2 separate regions of the Homo sapiens genome follow, and region 2 is linked to region 1. Evidence: promoter capture Hi-C in 16 types of primary human blood cells and fetal thymus (Javierre and others, 2016). All regions are on one chromosome and are shown on one strand. Each heading gives the region's core, a stretch centred on a gene start or on the middle of the fragment in contact. The rest is flanking DNA. Distances are from core to core; before and after follow the strand shown.

The links. Contacts are between HindIII fragments. The CHiCAGO score rates a contact against its expected background, and 5 or more counts as called.
Region 2: a contact is called between a fragment that was not itself captured here and the fragment with the promoter of KY in region 1, in 1 of 17 cell types (neutrophils). The highest score is 5.3, in neutrophils.

What each region holds. Positions count from the first base shown.
Region 1 is chr3:134,648,897-134,653,815 of GRCh38, reverse strand. KY (kyphoscoliosis peptidase) reads left to right here and starts at 2,794. Exons shown (of 11, transcript NM_178554.6): 1 at 2,794-2,991. The coding sequence starts at 2,856. It also overlaps a transcript of CEP63 not described here. The HindIII fragment of the contact is 8,919 bases long and covers 1-4,919 here.
Region 2 is chr3:134,815,123-134,820,563 of GRCh38, reverse strand. The region is part of intron 1 of EPHB1 (EPH receptor B1); the gene reads right to left. Among named protein-coding and RNA genes, the nearest start is that of EPHB1, 23 kb to the right of the region's middle. The HindIII fragment of the contact is 4,743 bases long and covers 796-5,441 here.

The DNA of each region.
Region 1 (4,919 bases), core at 1,545-4,044:
AGGAAGAGATGGGTCTGGAGATTTGCAGGCTGAGCGTTCTGTTATTTGTCCCGTTGATTGTGTGAGCAGCTGGAGGGAGGATTTGAGCAGAAGGGATACAGCCTCTACTTGAATGATATCCCAGCCACCTCAGTGTTCTCTTGTCTCTCCTTCCCCTTTCCTGATACATCCAAATGCCTTCAGCCACATCACCTTCCCCATGGTGTCTCCCTCTCAGCCCAAGAATGGATAGTGGGGAAGAGGGGAAGCAGCTAAGTCAACCCAGGCCAAGGATGGGAATAGAGTTGGCATTAAGAAGAGCATCTCATCTATGCTCCTGGCAGGCCCCAGAAGCTAGGCTGTTGGACTGATGGCCATGGGTAAACCTCTGAGAAGAGGGTCTAGGTGTCAGGCACCATCAGGATCCAGGGGCAGCAGCATCTCCCAGAGCAGTCGAGGTGACTCCAATTTCAGGAGTTTGCTCCAAAGCGGTGTTCACACTGCAATTCTTTCCAAAGGAAACATTGGTCAATGTCTGGAGACATTCTAAGTTCTCACAATAGGGAAGTGAATGTGATTGGCATCTAATGCGTAGAGGCCAGGGATGCTGCTAGACATCCCACAGTGTACAGGAAAGCCCCACCAAAGAGAATTATCTGGCTCAAAATGTCAATAGCGCCAAGGATGAGAGGCCCTGCTCCGAAGCTGTCTTCAGACATAGCAGAGAGACAGGAGGCCTCCACACCATTTCCCCAGACCCCTGGCAGCACATTCCCAGGTCAGAATATCCTTCTCCAGAGGCAGTTCTGGGAGGGGGCACCAGAGTTTGCGAGTTCCTAGCAATGACACTTTCCAGCAGGAGAGCAAGGGTTGGGAGATGGGAATGCAAGTGTAAGGAAAGGGGACTTCAGCTCCCCCCACCATCACCAACACTCAGACCCATCCGGCAACCAAGGGTGCTGTACACAGGCTTCTAGTTGATTTCAGCACTTCAGACAACCTGACACTTGAAGGAGTTAGACAACACTGACTGGCCCAGGGTAGTTGGGGGGACTCTGGGACCTGAGATCTGCCTCAGCAATCTCCAACACCCCAAGAGCTTTGCATAATGCATAGTTCTTACTTCCCCAGCCACATAGAGAGTAAGTGTTAGCCAGCCTCCCAGGTGTGCGCGCGCGCGTGTGTGTGTGTGTGTGTGTACCTGCACACATACAGACAGGACAAGACTCACTTTAGCAGAAGGAAACCTGCCTTGGAAGTCAGCCATCTCCACTTGCCTGTCTATGGCCTCAGCTCTCTAGGGACTCCAGTTCAACATTACTGGAAGCCAACAACCTCTCCTTCCATCAGATGCCCAGTGGGTGAGTCAGGGGGTGGGGTGGTGGGGGGGGGCGCTGGTAATGCAATAAGACAACAGCCTTTACACGGAACCAAACTCTGAGCCACTGTTATTGGAGGAAGACCTTCAGAATCTCAGAGTGTGGCTGTGACATCTCTCCTGCTTCTCTGCTCCATCAGTCACTTGTCACTCCATCTTTCCCTTTCCTCACCCTTAAAATGAAGTAAGAATGACAGCTACCATATGAAGACCACTTTCTATACACCAGGCGCCTTACATTCATGCCATTCTCACAACAGCCATGTGAGAAATTTTTATCAACCCAGTGATAAGGGTGAGAAGGTGGAGGGAAAATGGCTGGTCCAAGGTCACACAGCCAGGAAGTGATGGAGCTGGTACTGGAATGCAGTCTGTGTGACACAGGCTGCTCCAAGGAGGATCTGGGAACTCTCAGGACCATGCTACAAGGTGGGGTCCATACACTCCAATGCGGGGAGGGCTCCCAGAGCAAAGGCCTCCATGTGGGGGTGCATTTATTAACAGTAGAAACTCGAATTAGGGGAACGCCCCCAGCAGGGTGGGCCCGTAGTGCCCAGGGGTACCAGGCAGAAGCCTATGTAAACACTCCTGAGACCTACAGCCAAACCCCTGCTGCTGTTGGCTGGGCAGGCCAGGCCGGGCTAAAAATAGAAGGCTTCTCAGGTCCAGCTCCCTGTGCCCCAGCCTCCTCCTCTCCCCCTCCCTCCTTCCCCACAGGGCAGGAGCCAGGCTTCTAGAACGAACCGAGACTTTAAGACTTTCGTTTCAGATCAAAGAGGATCGTTAGCTTGATACTCAATGGGCATGTTCCAAGTTCTACAGGGGCCGTAACTGGGGGGAGCTCCTGACTCCAACACCCCACCCAACTCCCTCCTAGGGAGAGAGAGCTGTCAACCTCCAAAACCAACCCAGGGAAGGAGTGAGGTCGAGGCCAAAACTTGGACAATCTCTGCACATCTTGCAATTCAATCTGGAGCCCCTTTGCTGTCTTTCCTTTTCCTGAATCTACTCTCAATGTTGACAGCACTGTGCGATTTCTGTATTTGCCAGGGGCTTCTCGTGGGAGGTCGGCTCCAGCCCTCTCGAGAACCCTCCGGAGACCGTGGGGATGAGGCAGCGCTCAGCCAGAGAAGCCCTGGAGCCCAGGACCAGCGCTTCAAGTGCACCGGGCGGGAGGCAGGGGCGCAGGGAGGGAGGCTCTGGACCGGCCGCCCCTGCTGACTATGGCCCCGGTGCAGGTCAAGGCTTGGGCCCGGGGATTTCCTTTCAAAGGTGACTTAGAGCCGCTTCATTAGGGTAGCGCCCTCCCAGGCGGGCCCTAATGGCGTGTTTGGCAGAGTCAGCGAAAAGCAGCGCCCTGCGGCTCCAGCGGCGGGGGAGCGCCCTCTTCCGCGCCCTCGCCCTCTCCCGTGTGGGGCAGCTGCGCGCACGGGGCCATTTGCAGCGCAAGCAGCCTAGCGTGCGGCCGCGGCGCCCAGGTCGGAAAGGAGGCGGCATCATGGAGCTGAAGAAGGACATCAACGCTGTATCTATCGACATGCTGCTGATCGTGCACTCGGAGAAGCGGCGCGCCGCACAGGGTACGCTCTCAGACCAGCAGGCGAACCCGAGCTCGCTGCTGCAGCGCGGAGGAGGTAACGCGCGCCCGACCCGGGTCCCCGGGTCCCCCGGCACCTTGGCCTCCTTGCCACAAGGGCCTGCCCGCCGGGGGGCGCCCATTGCTCCCCCGAACGAGGTCAGCGAACCCGACCCTCTCCCCCATGGCTGCCGTCGCTTCCCCGCAGTGGCACCGGCGTCCCGTGGCAACGCGCAGTCCCGTGGCAACGCGCAGCCCCGTGATTGCCCCAGTTTCACTCCCTGTGCAGGCCTGTGGGTGCTTCCGTCACCCCTGGGAGTCTTTTTCCTCCCAGCCACTCCCTAACGGGTGTAGAGCAAGATTGGAAGATACCCTGGAGGAAGGCGGCCAGAGCCTCAGGGCTGACTCATGGGTAGCAGAGGCCTGCTCCCCCCCACAGCACACTGCAGGGCACAGGGGACGCTGGGAAACCTTTGGGCTGAGTCAGACTTTTAGATGGGGAGCTCCCTGTGTGGCCTTGCACAATTTACAGCCTCAGTTTCTCCTTTCTTGAGACTTTCTCCCAGCCTCCTATAGATGGAAGGCATGAAAGGCGTAAAAGGAACGCAGGTTTGGATAGGGTAAGATTTGAAACCTGCTGTCTCCACTTGAACTTATCCATCAATTTTACTTGTCCTACACACTTTCTGGGTAAATTTGTAAGTTGTAGATTGGTAAAATAAAGTGACTGTTTATAGAGTGATTGTGGAAAGCAGGATCCGGGCCTCTCTGTTCTCCAGACGACAGAACACAATGTGAATGGAGTACAGAGGGATGATAATGGAGGTTAAATAAGCCCCTGAAAAGCCAGAGAACCTCAGGGTCCTGGATGGCAAGCTGTCTCCGAGGCTGGTGTGAGGATGCACTAGGCGGACTGCGGGCCAGTTCTTTAGGAGTTAGGCCTGACAGCCCATGCAGGAGAATGACTTCTGCCTCTCTCCTCCCCTCCAGCTCTGGAGCTCCTTGGAATTCCTGCTGCTGCTCTGCCCTTGGTTCTTCTGTCCCCAGAGCCTCTGTGCTCATTGAACATCCACCTTCCACCTGCCTTGCTTAAGTAATGCTGCTGTGGATGGCCTTGCCACTACCAGCCACATAGGCTGGAGCTGCCTCCAGAGCCCTGGGAACCTCTTGGGAAGGCAGGCAGGGGAAAGAAACAGAATCTAGAGGGCTGAGTATGTTGACAGGCGCTCTAGTCTCAGGGCTGATTCCTGACTGAAGCAGGAGTTGTTTGGATTCGTTGGCTCTTTAGTTATCAGACCTACTCTTGGGAGAAGGGGAAATGGCCTGCCCAGGGTATTTGTAGTTAGAAAGTCAACAGAGGGCATCAACTTCTTGATAGAAATGAGACTGCTCTGAATACATGTACCACAGTCCAGAATGCCTTCTCCAGTGTGTGGCGAGGCCTAGTTCCAGGTCAGCCCACGAGTCCCCTACTCCCAATCCTCTCTGATCACATCACTTCTAAAGGCTCTGACACTAGAAAGGGCAAAGAATGCAGAGAAGCCCAGGAAACACCAGGCATCAGGACTGCCCTGAGAGGTGCCCAACACCTAGCACAAACTCGCCATGGCTCCAGACTCATGTATGCACACTAGTGACTATGACAGAGAAAAAAAGACCCCTAATGGCTGGGCCCTTTCTGCTGAACTTTTTCTCCAAATATTTTTCTGATGGCCGTTTCTCACCGATGCTATGAATGACAGTGTAGAGATCTGTGTCACTTATTCACAACCAGAGCAGAGAAGAGGAAAAGTGCATGGCTTTTGATGCCTGGTGGGCAGAGATGATATTCAGGAGACCCCAGGCAAAGCCAGCCTGCAGACCCTTTCCTCGAAAAACAGCCTAAGGGAGGAAAATGCCCAATAAGACCAGCTTGTTCCAAAGCCTCCCATGGGTGCAAGATATAAAACAAACTCTTGCTCACTTCCAGGTATCTCCTCCTTTCTC
Region 2 (5,441 bases), core at 1,918-4,417, 170 kb before region 1:
AGTTTTGTGCCTGTGATTAGAGGGCCCAGCCTCTGGAGGCTAAAAAGTTACCTTTAAGCATCTCTTCCCCCCGATTCTTCTCTTCATAAAGGCAGCCAGTTTCTGGTCCAAGGGGGCATTCTGTAAACACTGGAAGGAAGGGAGGGAAGAAAGGAGGGAGGAAGGAATTTTCTGAGCCCTCTGGTAGAGAGGCCTCCCTTAGGGGCAGAGAAGCATTTGTCTCCATGCCTAGACTATGGAGAGGTTGTGGTTTTCCTGCAGGGATACTGCTAAGTGCTCCCTAAACCTGCTTTTCCCAGACATGGAGGCTCCCTCCATTTCTCAGCTTGGTCCAGATGGGACCATGAGAGTAGTCTTTGCCAATGGAGTGGAAGAAAGAGGGAGTGATGTTTCTCTCCCAGGCTGAGATAGGTAGGAAGGTAAGAGTAAATTTGCCTTTTCCTCTGTCAGCATTTATCAACAGGGTCTACTAGTATGGGTCCCTGAATGACAGGAGGGGTGGGTGAGGGGAGGGGAAGGGGACAGAACCCCACCACGGGCCTCACCAGACTGTGATATGAGTGAGAAATAAACTTTTATCTTGTGGGCTAAAAAATTTGGAATCAGGTGTTACAGCAATTAGCTGACACTGATTAAATCAGAAATTGGCATGACAGGTGTCCATGTGTCCCCTGCGCTGGGCCCACCCAAGCAAGGCAGAAGAGCAAGAAGTATGGGATGGGGCATCTGTAGGCAAGACCGGGCTAGAAAAGAAGGCAACAGAGGCCTCCCAGGCAGACAAAAGTGAGAGAAGCTTTGGCTGTGGGAACACAAGATCCAAGGGCAACTACCTTTCCCACAAAAAGAAGCTGCAAGGGCAGTGTCTGAGCAGCCTGGGGAGGCACAGGGATGTGCAGGGTAGGGACTCAGCTGCTCCAAGCAGAACCCCACACTGCTGCATTGAGAAGGGAGAGAAGAGGCACAGAGAAGGGAGGAAACATTTATTGAGTGTCTGCTACATACCAAGCCTTGTCTGTACCAGGCAATCCATCTATGTTATCTCATTTACTCATTCCAAAGCCCCTATAATGGGATATGATTCATTCCCATTTTATAGAGGAGCTACTTCCAAGGCTTACACCTACAGACTGGTCAAGTGGAGATGAGAACCTGGTCTGGGAGATCACCACATGGGCACCCTTCTGCCTCCCTCGTAGGAAATGGGAATTCACTAGCAGGGAACCCATACTGCCTGCTGGCCCCGTGAAAGACACCTATGCACAAATGGGAGGCTGCCATCCCCTAAGGCATAGGGAGAGGGAGGACACACATCAAACAGAAGCTCCGACTGATTATGGAAGTGATAGTGATTAGACAGAGGTGTGTTTATGCCTACCTAACGTCCATTTCTCTATGCTCAGAAGTTCACCTCTGCATACAGCAAAAATCCCACCTGCCAAAACATTATCTTGTCTTATAACTCATGTTTAGACCCCTTTCTATCCTGCCTAAACGGCCCCCTTCACTCATAAACTGGCTACTAACCTTTGCATTATAGTCTGAAGATTGAATCAGCTCCCACCTCCTGCCTCCACCTCCTGTTTCCAGCCAGGCTGCCCTCAGCCTCTGTTCATCTTCTCTGCTCACCTCGAAACACAGTCCTGAAAGGGGAGGGGCCAGATGCTTGGAGGGCTCTCAAGAGACCCAGAGAGAAAAGTCATTATTTGAAAGAAACACTTGCACGTGCATGTTTATAGCAGCACAATTCAGAATTCCAAAATCGTGGAACCAACCCAAACGTCCACCAATTAAGGAGTGGATAAAGAAACTGTGATAGATATATAGTATATAGGATAGAATATGAAATACTACTCAGCCATAAAAAGGAATGAATTAACGGCATTTGCAGTGATCTGGATGAGACTGGAGACTATTATTCTAAGTGAAGTAACTCAGGAATGGAAACTGATACGTGGGAGCTAAGCTATGAGGATGCAAAGGCATAACAAGGATACAATGGATTTTGGGGACTTTGGGGTAAGAGAGGGAAGAGTTGAAGGGGGGCAAGGGATAAAAGACTACAAATATGGTGCAGTGTATACTGCTTGGGTGATGGGTGCACCAAAATCTCACAAATCACCACTGAAGAACTTACCCATGTAACCAAATACTACCTGTACCCCAATTACTTATGGACAAATAAAATTTTAAAAAGAAACACTATGACTGTCCCCAGCAGCATGGACATACCATAAGGTCATACATCCTAAGCCAAGGAGGCTGCCTGCCTGTCAGCCTCTTAAACAGGGTTCCAAGGACTTTCAACCTCATTATCCAAGAGCTGGCTGTAGGTTTCTCTTCTTGTTGAATGAAGGGTTAAATGAAAGTAGGGTAGAGAAAGTGAATTCCCCAGTCATTGCCTTACAATCACCTAGGAGTGTGAGATGGTCACCTAAGGGGCCTATCCCAGTACCTGGACATGCCTTCCCTCTTCACATCTTTCCTCTCCACATGGCTCTTAGGAAAGTCAGTGGAATGGAGAACTCCACAAGCTGAGCCAGGAGTGGGGCGGGGAAAAGCATTAAGAAGCCACCTGTTTGAAGAGTGGGTAGGAACATAGGCACAGGACCTCAAGAGGTGTCTGTGAACCTGGCTGCATGTGGCAGACAGTTCTCCCGACCGCCAGTCATTGCGCTTTCCCCCTCTGGGCAGGGGCTTGGGATATTGGATCTCATTTCCCTCTATGGATGACCATTCCACCAGGCTTGGGCCAGGAGCTGTCCACCAGAATCAATCGTAACCACCATTATAAGAACAGCTTGTGTTTCCAGAGCACATCCCAGTTTACAAAGCATTTCCCATACATGGGCTCTGATTCCTACTCAACAACCTCTTACTGAAGAGCTCAAAGAGAAAGAGGTTGGACCACATCATCCCCAATGGACAGGTAATGAAACTGAGAATGAAACTTCAGAGAGATTAGGTGGCTTTCCAAGGTCACGCAGCTGGTAAATGTGAGCCAGTTCTCTGACTCCCAATAGCAGCCTCTTGCATGGATTCATACCTTCAGGTCTAAGGCCACGGTGGGGACAGAAACTACAGAGCTCCATGTGCACTCCTCTGCCAGGACAGGGAAGTGTGCCACCCACTTCCAGCCCTCCACATGGCCTCAGCTCTGCCACGCTGGCCAGAAGCCTGAGAACCAGGTGCTGGGTGAGCCATGGCACCCGGCCCTCTAAACGGTGAAGGAGCTGTGACGACTAGAATTGCAGGCAATACTGACATTGTTCTACAGAGGAGAGAAAATGTCAGTGAGTACACTGTCCAGTGCCCCCCAATTCCTGGGGCCACAGAGAGGGGAATGGGCTGACTGGGGCCTTCAAACTTTATTTTTATTTACAAAAACAGGCAGCCCATAGTCCATGGTTTACAGAATTTGATTTAAAAAAAAAACTACATTCATATATTACTTACCTTGATTAATCTTTAGTGCCCCCTTAAACTTTGCTCCAAGTGGCTGCCTCCTTCTTCTTACCCTAGTCCCTGTTCCTCCCTTTTCCCACAAACTGGAATCCTGGTGAGATGGGAGGAAGTCCTGGAGACGGCAGAGAAGGCAGCAGTGGTCCACAGGCCCTTTCCTTGCTCTGCTGGGTCTGCTAGGAATTCGTCCAGACCTGCTCACACTGAGGGTGAGTGCCCCAGGAAGCCCTGCTGCCTAACCACTGAGACGCCTGCGACTCTTGGCCATGATACGTCATGTCAGGTTACTGAACATCGCCCCAGCACACGTGCCTGAATATCAGCTTTTCTAAGCTGCTTAGAACATTGGCCCTCCAAGTCTATGGGAGTAGGCAAGGACTACACACCAGCAATAGATGGGCCAGACAAGGTATTGGCAAGCAGAAGAATGATTTAGGGATCAATTTTCCCAGAGGAGGGTGCCTGGGAATCTGTTTCAAATGAAAAGAGAGATACAGAAGAAATGACAATACTAATAACTACCACGGGCTTTAAACACCTTATCTCATCTATCTCACAACGATCATGTGAGGTGAGTACCACCATCCCCACTTACGGGACGAACACACAGAGGCCATAACTGGGAGGTTATGTAGTTTGTTCAGTGTCAGAGGTGGAATTCAAATCCAGACCTGTCTGAATCCAACACTCAACTGCTTCAGGAAAAAAATCCAGCCAGGCACGGTGGCTCACACCTGTAATCCCAGCACTTTGGGAGGCGAGGTGGGCGGAGCATTTGAGGTCAGGAGTTCGAAACCAGCCTGGCCAACATGGTGAAACCCCGTCTCTACTAAAAATACAAAAAAAACAAAAAAATTAGCTGGCTGTGGTGGTGTGTGCCTATAATCCCAGCTACTCGGGAGGCTGAGGCATGAGAATCGCTTGAACCCAAGACGTGGAGATTGCAGTGAGCCGAGATCACACCATTGCACTCCAGCCTGGGTGACAGAGCAAGACTCTGTCTCAAAAAAAAAAAAAAAAACAGAAACAGAAAAAGAAAAAAGAAAAAAAGTACCTCAGAGGCAGAAGGACAACGTGCAGAGGACACGGCGTGTGGCCCCAGCATTTACCTTTGGTGGTTACTTAATCTTTCTGCATCCCAATTTCCATGCCCCCCAAAAAACAAATGTGTGCTGATAAATAAATATGGCACAATAACAACAACTGTTGAAACTAGGGGCAGGGGCTGTGGCATGGGTGTTCACTTCAGCATACTTTTGACTTTTCTATACTTTTGGAAATATTCATAATAAATTTGGAAAACAACAAAATGTCCCCAGGTCAAAACTGATATATGACCCCATCAAAGAAAGTCCCTGGCATCAAAATAGCTGAATAAAAATAGCTACATTAAACAGCTGCACCAACCCTCCACAGCATTGTGGGAATATAAATTGGTTCAGCCTTTTTAGAGGGCAACTTGCAACATCCATCAAACTTTGAAACAAGGCGCACTGTTTTCTTAAACTTTTTATTTTAAAGAAATAGCAATCACACAAGAAAGTTGCATGAATGGAACCAGAAACCCCCATATTCCTTTTACCCTGATTCACCAATTTTTAACATTTTGCCACATTTGCTTTTTCATCTTCTCTTTCCTCACCACATATATTTTATGGTACAATAGGATATATCATAATATGATATTACATATATATTTTATTATATACACATTTATTATATTATATACACACATTCATCTGTTTATTTTCCTCCTTGAGCCACCTGAGAGCAGGTAGCATACATCATGGCCATTTACTCCTTAATTCCTCAATATTTGTTTCCTAAGAACAAGAATATTCTCTTATTTGACCACAATGCAGTTACAAATTTGGAAATATTAACATTTTGTTATAATACTTTCATCTAAGGAGACCCACTCCCTGAATTTTGGAAGGCTATATTCCAATTTTGTTTGTTGTCCAAATCATATCCTTTAAAGC